Regions from separate parts of the Homo sapiens genome. Here regions 1 and 2 are each linked to region 3. Evidence: promoter capture Hi-C in 16 types of primary human blood cells and fetal thymus (Javierre and others, 2016). All regions are on one chromosome and are shown on one strand. Each heading gives the region's core, a stretch centred on a gene start or on the middle of the fragment in contact. The rest is flanking DNA. Distances are from core to core; before and after follow the strand shown.

Evidence for each region. Contacts are between HindIII fragments. The CHiCAGO score rates a contact against its expected background, and 5 or more counts as called.
Region 1: a fragment that was not itself captured here is called in contact with the fragment with the promoter of NAA20 in region 3 in 3 of 17 cell types (naive B cells, M1 macrophages and total B cells); the score reaches 7.6 in naive B cells.
Region 2: a fragment that was not itself captured here is called in contact with the fragment with the promoter of NAA20 in region 3 in 2 of 17 cell types (endothelial precursors and naive B cells); the score reaches 7.5 in endothelial precursors.

What each region holds. Positions count from the first base shown.
Region 1 is chr20:19,787,662-19,790,921 of GRCh38, forward strand. The region is part of intron 1 of RIN2 (Ras and Rab interactor 2); the gene reads left to right. Among named protein-coding and RNA genes, the nearest start is that of RIN2, 31 kb to the left of the region's middle. The HindIII fragment of the contact is 4,608 bases long and covers 1-3,260 here.
Region 2 is chr20:19,770,066-19,773,519 of GRCh38, forward strand. All of the region lies in intron 1 of RIN2 (Ras and Rab interactor 2), which reads left to right. Among named protein-coding and RNA genes, the nearest start is that of RIN2, 14 kb to the left of the region's middle. The HindIII fragment of the contact is 1,447 bases long and covers 1,069-2,515 here.
Region 3 is chr20:20,015,375-20,018,796 of GRCh38, forward strand. NAA20 (N-alpha-acetyltransferase 20, NatB catalytic subunit) reads left to right here and starts at 1,988. Exons shown (of 6, transcript NM_016100.5): 1 at 1,988-2,075. The coding sequence starts at 2,023. RefSeq lists enhancers at 1,495-1,674, 2,289-2,789, 3,251-3,422 and silencers at 1,995-2,064, 2,115-2,234. The HindIII fragment of the contact is 8,583 bases long and covers 1-3,422 here.

The sequences.
Region 1 (3,260 bases), core at 307-2,806, 230 kb before region 3:
ATAATAGACATAAATGGCTTAATACAATGTCAAGCATATACTGAGTGCTCAATAAGTGGTAGCTAGTGCTATCATTATGTTATGCTTTCTGGATTTTGTATTTTAAGCTCCAGGTCCAGAGACATAGATCTAGTAAGGGGAGGATAGACAGTTCAGGTATTAAACTGCTTGACTCAAGCATGTGCTTACTGGCAACCATGTTACTACCCTATGCATTACACAAGACAATCTCAGATCTACTCCATCTATCCCAGGTGATGGTCTTTTCCAAATAGAGGAAGACTTCCTCTATCAGTAATGTAAAGTACTACACCCCTCCCTAACTTGTATTTCCAAATAAGTTATTGTGTTTTTATTGTAGAATTTAACATTTAGATTAAAAATACTTAGTGCGATCTCAGCAAACTACCATGGAAAGGTAACCACTTGAATCTGACAAAGGGTATGTGCAAGCCATGTTGAATGGTGAAATACTTAATGCTTTCACTCTGATGTATGGAATAACACAAGCGTGCCCTATCACTCTTATTCACTGTCACCTTATAGCATCTATCACTCTGTCATCTGTATTCAACAATATACTGGTAGTCTTACCAGGACACTAAGGCAAGAAAAAGAAAGAAATGTTATTAAAATTAGAAAATAAGAATTGGCCAGGTGCATTGCCTCATGCCTGTAATCCCAGCACTTTGGGGGGCTGAGGCAGGCAGATCACTTAAAGTCAGGAGTTCAAGACTAGCCTGGCCAACATGGCGAAATCCTGTCTCTGCCAAAAAAAAAAAAAAAAACAACTAGCTAGGCATGGTGGCAGGCACCTGTAATCCCAGTTACTTGGAAGGCTGAGGCAGGAGAATCACCTGATCCCAGTAGACAGAGGTTGCAGTGGGCTGGGATGGCACCACTGCACTCCAGCCTGGGCAACAAAGCAAGACTTTGTCTCGAAAAAAAAAAAAAAAATTAAAATTGCCATTACTCAGGAGTTAATATACTAGTAACAAGTAGAAAATTAAATAGAAAATGTGATCTACAGTACCATACAAAAAAAACCTTAACAATAGATATGCAAGAACACCACACTAAAACTACAAAACATTGAGAGAAATTAAAGAAGACCTAAATAGATAGAAGGACATACCATGTTCATGGATTGAGATATTTTAAAGATGTCATTTATCCCCAAAGTGATCTACGGACTCATTAAAATTTCAAATAAGTCCTAGCAGAATTATTTTCTGTTTAAATTGGCAAGTTAATTCCAAACTGTAGGTGAAACTGAAAAATAATTATAAAATTCAAAGCCATATTTAAGAACAACAGCAAATCTGTAGCTCTTACATTACCAATTATTAAGACATGCTATAAAGCTACATAATGAAGACTGTGGCATCAGAACAAGGATAGACAAATAGGTAAATGGAACAGAAGTGAGAGTTCAGAGACAGAGCTACAAGATAATGCAGTATCTTGGCTTACAACAAAGGCTACACTGCAATTAAGCGGGTGTGGAGGCGGGAGAAGAGTCTTTTCCACAGATGGCGCTAGTCAGTTGATATTCCTGAGGAAAAAAATAAAACTTGATTCCTATGCCATACACAAAAATGATTTTATGATGGATCATAGGCTTAAATGTTAAAACTAAAACAATTAACCTTCTAGAAAAAATACAAGAGAAATATCTTCGTGAACTTGGGATATGCGAAGATTTTTTAAAATAATACTTTTAACTTAAGATGTGTGCACTTTACTGTATGTTAATTATACTTCAATAGAATTTCCTCTCCCTTGTCTTTTGTTATGTGACACTCTTAATTTTCTTCCTAGTCCTTTATGATTTCTCTATCTTGCCTAGTTTCTTTTATTTTGTACAAGATTCTTTCTGTGGTTTACTTACTTTCTCTTGCTGCAGTTGGTATCTTGGGCATTTTACCTATTTGTAGCTTTAGCTGCCTGCTCCCTGTAGGTGGCTCCTAATCTTATAACTGTTGTTCCAATCTGCCTCCTCCCATGGGGTCGTAGGACTCTCAGGGACATCCAACTATTGCCTGGTTCCCTGCCATGTGCTTCAGTCCCCTCTATGCATCCCCATGGGTTGTTGTTCAGTCTGTGCTTTAATATTTTTGATGAGGAGAAAATCACCCAGTCCCAAAGTGCTAGCCAGAGATTCCTCACCTCGAGTTGCAATTTGTCTTCCTCTAATTTCTCTCCTTTGGTTCTCCTCTTATCTGTCACTGAGCAAGTCTAATTCCACTCACATGACAGAGGCTTCCCTGCTTTTTCTTTTCTCCAAGTCAATCATCCAAGACTCCTTCAAACATCTTTTCCTAAACATGGTCACATATTTCATTTCTAGCTACTTCTTGACGGGCCCTAATTTTATCACGTTTTTATCAAAATGTGGCACCCAGAATTGAACAGAAGGCTTGAAGGTGATCTGGCCTCTATAGACCATCATTTCCCTCGTTGCAGATGAGTTGTTTTCTGAATATAGACTTATTCATTTGTCTCTAGTAATTCTTCAACTGCCTTTTGGATTTCTCAATCTGGATCTCCCTAGAAACCTCAATTTATTCAAAAATGAAATAATCATACACCCACCGACACCAGCAACTGCCCCAGTCTTACAAGGCTAGCAAGTCAGGTTGCCTGCTTCCCACTCAGATAACTTGATCTCTAGCCTTATTAATTAGGGGGCAGCTATTACTCCACTTGGCTTTCATTCTCTATTTGTGTATGTGGGTTTAGGGAAGGGGACTTTTTATCCTGATACAGAATATCCATTTATTCCTGTTAATTTTTCAACTAATGTTGGATTTTTCAAGTTGGGCTTAACTTATCTAAATCTAGGATAAGCTGGGCTCTGTGGCTTGCACTTGTAGTCCTATCTACTCTGGAGGCTGAGGTAGGAGGATGACATGAGTCCAGGAGGAGTTCAAGGCCAGCCTGGGCAACATAGGGTTACCCCAGCAGTAAAAAAATTAATAAAAATAGAATAATCATCCACTTACCCCAACCAATTCCCCCTCCCAACTTCCTTATCCTTTGGGTGGCCTTATCTGGCCCTTCTTCATGTCTGTCACCTTCTTTCTTAGTTCAAGCCCATATTCCTTAGTTCAGGTCTCTCTTACTTGCCCTAAATGGTCCTTCCAGCCTCCAGCACTTCACCCCAACTCTGAGATGGTCACTAGCTCCCATAGGTTTGCATTGTAAAATGGAAACCCTTCCCTTTGTCCAGACCATGACCTGGCCTGCCTTTCCATGTG
Region 2 (3,454 bases), core at 542-3,041, 250 kb before region 3:
CTATTTCTCATGGAAGATGGTGTAATGAAGGTATGAAAGGCTCCAGGAAAAGCTATGCTCAAGTTTTTTAGAGAGACAAAAAGAGCCTGGCATAAGAACTAAGACTTCATATTTCACAAGGATTATGATGCTTTTACAAAATAAATATCATTCTAGAAGCAAAGATAAAAAGTAATAAATTTAGCAAAATAACTGTTGAAGGTTGACTGAGCTGAAGGAACTATGCAATTAAGGATTATTTAATTTAACAGGACTGCCTTTGAGGAAAACAATGTTGGGTGAGTGCTGGAGAAATTGACCCAGCTATGATACCATTTGACTTCAAAATTGTTTACATGCCATGTGAAAAGCCCAGCGCAGAGGCAAGGAGAAAGCCCTCTGACCCTTAAAGCATTTCCCAATGAGCCATTTTAACAGAACCTCTCTGCAAATGAGCATTTCTAAGGGGACACAATTCCCCTGCCCTCCATCTGGAGGAGGAAATGTGAAATCTTGTTTTCCCTGCGGAGCTGCTTCCGCTCAGTCACCACCAAGCTCTGCAACTCATGGCTCTGCCCCCAGCCTCTGTCCCTCTTCCACCTCCTGCTGCCTCCTTCCCAGCAAGAATTCCATGTTTTCACGTATAACCTGTACGTGAAAAAAACAAAAACGTGTTTTTCCTCTGCTCTCACAACAATCACCAACACAGAAGCCTTCTGTGACCAAATGTGTGGGGTTTTTCCCCACACACCAAGTAGTGGACACCAGCTGGGCATCCTCCAGCTCAATTCCCACAGGGTGAGGGCTGAGTCTCACAAGACTGCCCCCACCCCCCCCCCCCACCTTCCCACTAGGGCCGCAAGTCCCGGCCTCCGGATCTGCTGACAGACCCGGCATCAAGTGGGGGTTCCCACAGCCCCTTCTTCGAGTTCAACTAATTTGCTAGAGTAGCTCACAGAGCTCAGGGAAACACAAATATTTATTGGATTATTGTAAAGGATATTGCAAAGGATACAGATGAAGAGAAGCACAGGGGGAGGCCAGCTTCCAAGAAGCTTTCTGAATGCAGGCCTTTGGCGTGTTTGTGGAAGCTTCATTACCTAGGTCTGCCTGGTCAAACCATTGGCTATTGGTGATCAACTTAACCTTCAGCCCCTCTCCTGTCCCTGGAGGTGAGACAGTGGTCAAAGTCCCAGTCCTCTAATCCTGCCTTGGTCTTTCCTGTAACCAGGGACTGCCAGCTGTCAATCAGCTCATTAGCATGCAGAAACATCACTTTGGAGATTCTAAGGATTTTTGGAGTTGTATGGCAGGAAACAGGGTTAAAGACCAGGTATATGTTTCATAATATATCACATAACACCTCCTTTGCGTATTCCTCATTTCTCTTGCCTGGTCTCTCTCAGGGCACTCCCCGAACTCAACCCCAACCCCTGCTGAAGCACACTTCCCCTGGGCTGTCCCTGCACCAGGCAGACGGACATGGCCAGGAAGACCACGGCATCCTTAAGGGATTCACGGCTGTCGGTCTCGAGGGGTCCAGCTCCCTTTCCGTAGTCCATCCACACACCTCTTCGGATCCATCTTCGACATACTTGTTTTTCAAATTACATTTTTATATGCATAGGAGTGAAGGAGAGTTTGGGGAACTAACACTGCTTTGGTATTTCCTTTCTTCTCCTCTCTGATCCTATCCTCTTTCATTTCATTAAAACGCTCTGACAGCAGCTTTTCTAAATTGCTTTCACAACCCACTAATGGGCTTTGAAAAAAACATGCCCTGAATGATTGTTCCACTCCGACTCTCCCTTCTCAAGCCTCCTGCCTCCTCCTGCCTCCTCTTGCCCTCCTCACTCTCTCGTTATTTTGAGACAGGATCTTGCTCTGTTGCACAGAAACTAGAACTAATCTGCAGAACTTCCATGACTCCCAAACACTACCAAGCCACCTGCATGCCGACTGTAGGCTCCAGCTCCCTCCTGCTTCCGTGGATAGAACAGATGCGCGCTCTCAGTTATGCAGTCCACCCAGGCTTCTCTCAGATACTCAAGGGCATTACTGCAGCAATTGTCCCGCTCTTTGCTGGGTCACCAGTTTCTCACCCTGTTTCCTGGGTCATTTCCATCCAGCTGGATTCATACTGTAGTATGGCCCAACTTTAGAGAACCTTCTCTTGACTCCACTTTTACTTCCAGCTCCCACATCTTTTCTCAGCTTTCATTTTACAAAGAACTCTTTACGAGTGCATCGGTGCTCACTGTCCCCAAGTCTCTTCCTCCACTTCTTCCGTTGTACCACTCTAGCCAGGATACTGCCCCCTGAACTGATTTTGTCAAGGTCACCGATGACCCCCCTGTTTTCAAATCCAGTGGTCAGTCTTTGATCCCCATATGATGTGATTTTCTAGCAGCATCTGACATTAAACCAAGGATGGGGCCCTTCTGAATGCAGGGCCCTGTGTGACTGAACAGTTTGGGTGCCACGAAGCCAGCCCTGGAACCATGCTGATCTTGGGTTTCATGTCACAAGAGACACAAGCTTCCACTGACAAGCACTCCAAGATCCCAAGGAATAATCCCAGCAGCTAAAAGGGTCCCGGCACTGCCTGAGCCAGACCTCTGTTCAGGACTTCACATGGCTGCCTCATCTCAGAACCCTGACCAGCCTGTGAGATGATCACTTCGTGCCTCATCCCCCTGGTATGCATGAAGTCGTTTTATGCTTTTTTCCCCAAATTATAGAAACTGAGGCACAGAGAGATGGAGTGATTTGTCTGTAGTCACAAAGCTTGAAAGTGGGGAAGCCACAATTCACTCCTGGTCTGTCAAACACCAGGACCTACACTTGTAGCAATGACTCTGTAATAACCTCAGGGTGTCCCTGTGTAGAAATACAGGCATGCATTAATTTTCTAGGGTTGCTGTAACAAAATACCACAAACAAGGTGGCTCGAAACAACAGAAATTTATTGTCTCACAGTTCTGGAGTCCAGAAGTCTGAAATCAAGGTGTTGGCAGGGCTGTGCTCCCTCTGACGGTGGTAGGGAAGGAGCTGTTCCAGGCCTCCCGGCTTCTGGAAGCCTCAAGCATGCCTTGTAGATGCATCCCTCCAGTCCTCCATGCTCACACATTCTCCCTGAGTGTCCTCACATCGTCCTCCAGGTTTCCCCTTTCCTGTTGGATTGGGGCTCATCTGATGACCTCATCTAAATTAGTTAAATCTGCATAGACCCCATTTCCAAATAAGGTAATATCCAATGCTAGTAGGGGTGAGAACTCCAACATATCTCTTTGTGGGGACACAATTCAACCCATAACTAGGTGTAAAATTAGAAACTGATGAGATATCCAGGAAGTGTGACCAGTGCACACAATCAGAAAATAGAGTCAGGCATTCTCAGCAGTAAATAGCTATTCCAGGTCAAAGGGCTGGGTGTGAGTTGCCTCCATCTTGTCTTGTTCTGCTGTTGTTGGGG
Region 3 (3,422 bases), core at 738-3,237:
GTGAATATCCAGGATATTCTCTGTACTGCCCTGCACGTTCCCCTGACCCCATGTGTTGGAATGGCCACGTAGCTATAGGATATTTCTGATCTGTGCCTCAAAATCGGAATAATAATTCGTATCGGTGCTTGCAAACTGCTGGCCTACAGCATCCAGTTTCTGCAGGGTTCCAATGCTACCTTTGTGTTAAACCCACAGTGTTTTTTTCTAAAAATCAAAATCATGTTTATTCCACCATTACCTAGATACAAACATAAAGTAGCTATAAACTTCTAATGTTTATAATACCAATGAATCAGAGCCAAAAATATTATAAAAACCTTCACTACTTCATAAGGAACAAAATTCAAATCAACATTAGTTCATGTCACACACAAAAAATTATGAAACACTTTGAAATGGCCAGAAAAAGATTACTGTTTAGTACACGTTTCCAGGTTTTCTCTGCTTTTTATTGTCTTTGACAATACAAAATTTTACAAATTTGTAAGCTGAGGAAAATTGATAGTAATGAAAATTTTTCTTGTCCATAAAATACAAATGCATAGTGTTATACAGTGCCCAGGAGAGACAGTGATTACAGCTCTGTGGATATTGACCAGTTTAACACTCATGTGTAAATACATTTCAGCATTCCTGCTTGCTTTATGTATTTTATCTCTCTTTATCTTATCTTTTTGAGACAGGGTCTTGGTGTGTCACCCAGGCTGGAGTGCAGTGGTGCAATCATGTCTCAGAGCAACCTCTACCTCCCGGGCTCAAATGATCCTCCCACCTCAGCCTCCCAAGTAGCTGGGATTACAGGTGTGAGCCACTGTGTCTGGTCTGAATAAAGGAATTTTTAACTTTTAATTTTAACTACTTTAAATTTAAAAACTGATGTTTGGTTCAGCGATTTGAAAACAGTATATTTGGAACCGCTTGGATATGAGAATCTGCTTTTTAACCATACATTGATGAAATCTAAATAGAGAACAAGCATTTCCGATGACAGCTGCTCTCTCAGATTGAAATGCACTGCAAATGTAAAATACACACCGGATTTCAAAGTCTTTGCAAAAAAGAATGTAACATATCACATTCCTTTTTTTATTGATTGATTACATGTTGAGTATTGATTGGTTACATGTTGAAATGATATTTCGGGTATAATAAAGTGGGGTCAGGGAAAAATATTTTTCCCAAATAGGAAAAATAAATGGGTAAAATAAAGCGTACTATCAAAATCAATTTTACATTTCGTTTTGCTTTTATTTATTTATTATTTATTTTTGAGACCAAGTCTAGCTCTGTCGCCCAGGCTGGAGTGCAGTGGCGAGATCTCGGCTCACTGCAACCTCCGCCTCCTGGGTTCAAGCGATTCTCCTGCCTCAGCCTCCAAGTAGCTGGGATTAGAGGCGCGTGCCACCACGCCCAGCTAATTTTTATTTCTTTCCTTTTTTTTTTTTTTTTAGTAGAGAGGGGGTTTCGCCATGTTGGCCAGGTTGGTCTCGAACTGCTGAACTCAAGTGATCTGCCCGCCTTGGCCTCCCAGTGTTGGGATTACAGGCGTGAGCCACCGCGCCCGGCCTTCTTTTTGTTTTTAAACGTGGTATTGACATTTTAAGATGACATCTGCAACTCGCAACACTGGGACAAGGGATTCTGGGTCATAAATTCTCCCATTCCTCATTTACTCTGCAGCACCGGGTGGCTGCGAACTCCGCTCTTCTGCTTGGGTTTCCGCATCACCAGCAGCTTCTTTCCTTCCCAGGTGTCGCCGCCTGCTTTCTGCAGCCGCTGCCTGGGAGGGGTTCCGAGGTTCTGGGCAGCCACAGCCCCGGAGGCCTTACAGGAGCGACCTGGCAATTCCCGCCGCCGGCCGCCAGAGGAAGCTGCTTTGCTGCTGTCGTTGCCCAGCAACTCGTAGCCCGGAAGCAGTACCCCGTCTCGCTCGGTTCCGCGGCGGCCACGCTCCGGGAGACTTCCGGCAGGGCGGGCGCGGGGTCTTGGCGAACGGTCTTCGGAAGCGGCGGCGGCGCGATGACCACGCTACGGGCCTTTACCTGCGACGACCTGTTCCGCTTCAACAACATGTGAGTGACACGCGCCTAGGGCCAGCCGCTCTTGGCCGGGCCTCGCTTCCCGGCCCCGCCAGCTCCGGCCCCAGCCGCGCCTTCCCGGCCGGACCCCAAGCCCGGACGGGGACCCGCGAGAACCACCCCCCGCCGGCCAACGTGGGCGCCTCCCTGGGGCCACAGGGTCCAGGGAGAGGTGGGCCTGGAGTCGACGCACGCCGGCCTTGGCGACCTTGGCCGAGGTGCTCAAACTTTGTCTCTGGACCCTGCGAGCTGGCAGGTTCTGGGGCAGCGCTCGGGCCTCCGCTCGTGGTCGCTGTCAGGAGGCGCTGGGGTGATGGGGCGAGCTGGAGACGCGGCCTGGAGCCCACGACCTGGGCTTCTCGCCCTGCCCTACTGCTTGCTGGTTCGTGGCCGGGCCGCGCCTCTTCTGGGCAGAGGGCACCGCCGACGGCCAGGCCGCAGAGGGGGCTTGCGAGGATCGGAAGCTGGTCAGCAGCTGTTGGGATGTGTACATCGTGAAGCCCACCTGGTGGCCGTGGTTAAATTGTATCCAAATGAAATGACACTGATCACTGCGTCCCCTGCAGCAGATGCTGTCTCAGTCATGGTTAGTGTTTGCAAGTTTAGTTACTGTAGCTGCGCACCCCGGTGTACACACCTTTCCTCTGTGAGGAGTCACGGCAGATCTTAGGGGAGGCTCGCTGTGCCCAGAGCCCTGGATGCAGTTTCTTTGGATTCGAGTTAAGGCCAGACCTCTGATTTGCAGGTACCAATTTTTTTTTTTTAAGAAAACATTTTATTATGAAGATTCCCACACATTTAGAAAAGTTGGAGGAATTTCACCATGTGCTTTTATAGACACTTTTCCTGGATTCTGCAGTTAACATTTTGCTACGCTGGTATCTCTCCTTCCTTCCCATCTATCAGTCCTGGATCCACTTTAAAAAAACAACAGGGCGGTATGTGAAAACTAAGGACAAAGTGGTTCCGATTCAAGTGTCAGGAAGATGGAAAGAACTATGGGATAAGATGGCTGGGAACATTTCAAAGAGGGGGTGAGCCTTGAAGATGGATAACACATTGGTAAGTGAGGAAGACGGAAGTTCCGGAGAAGGAGCGGGGCATGAAAATGGGGAAACTTGAAGTGCGGTCAGACAACTGGGATCAGTGCGAATCTAGTGGCTGGTTTCTGCCACTGAGCAGTCAGGAAGAAATGGGTGAAACAGGAGGGGTTTAGACTTGATCCTGTGGAAAGAATTTTCTGTTGGGCCAGTCTGGTAGCTACGGTGACTTGTGTTGAACTCACTGTTCCCTGCATTGTTCTGAGTGCCCACGTAATAATCCAGTTAATCCTCACGATTC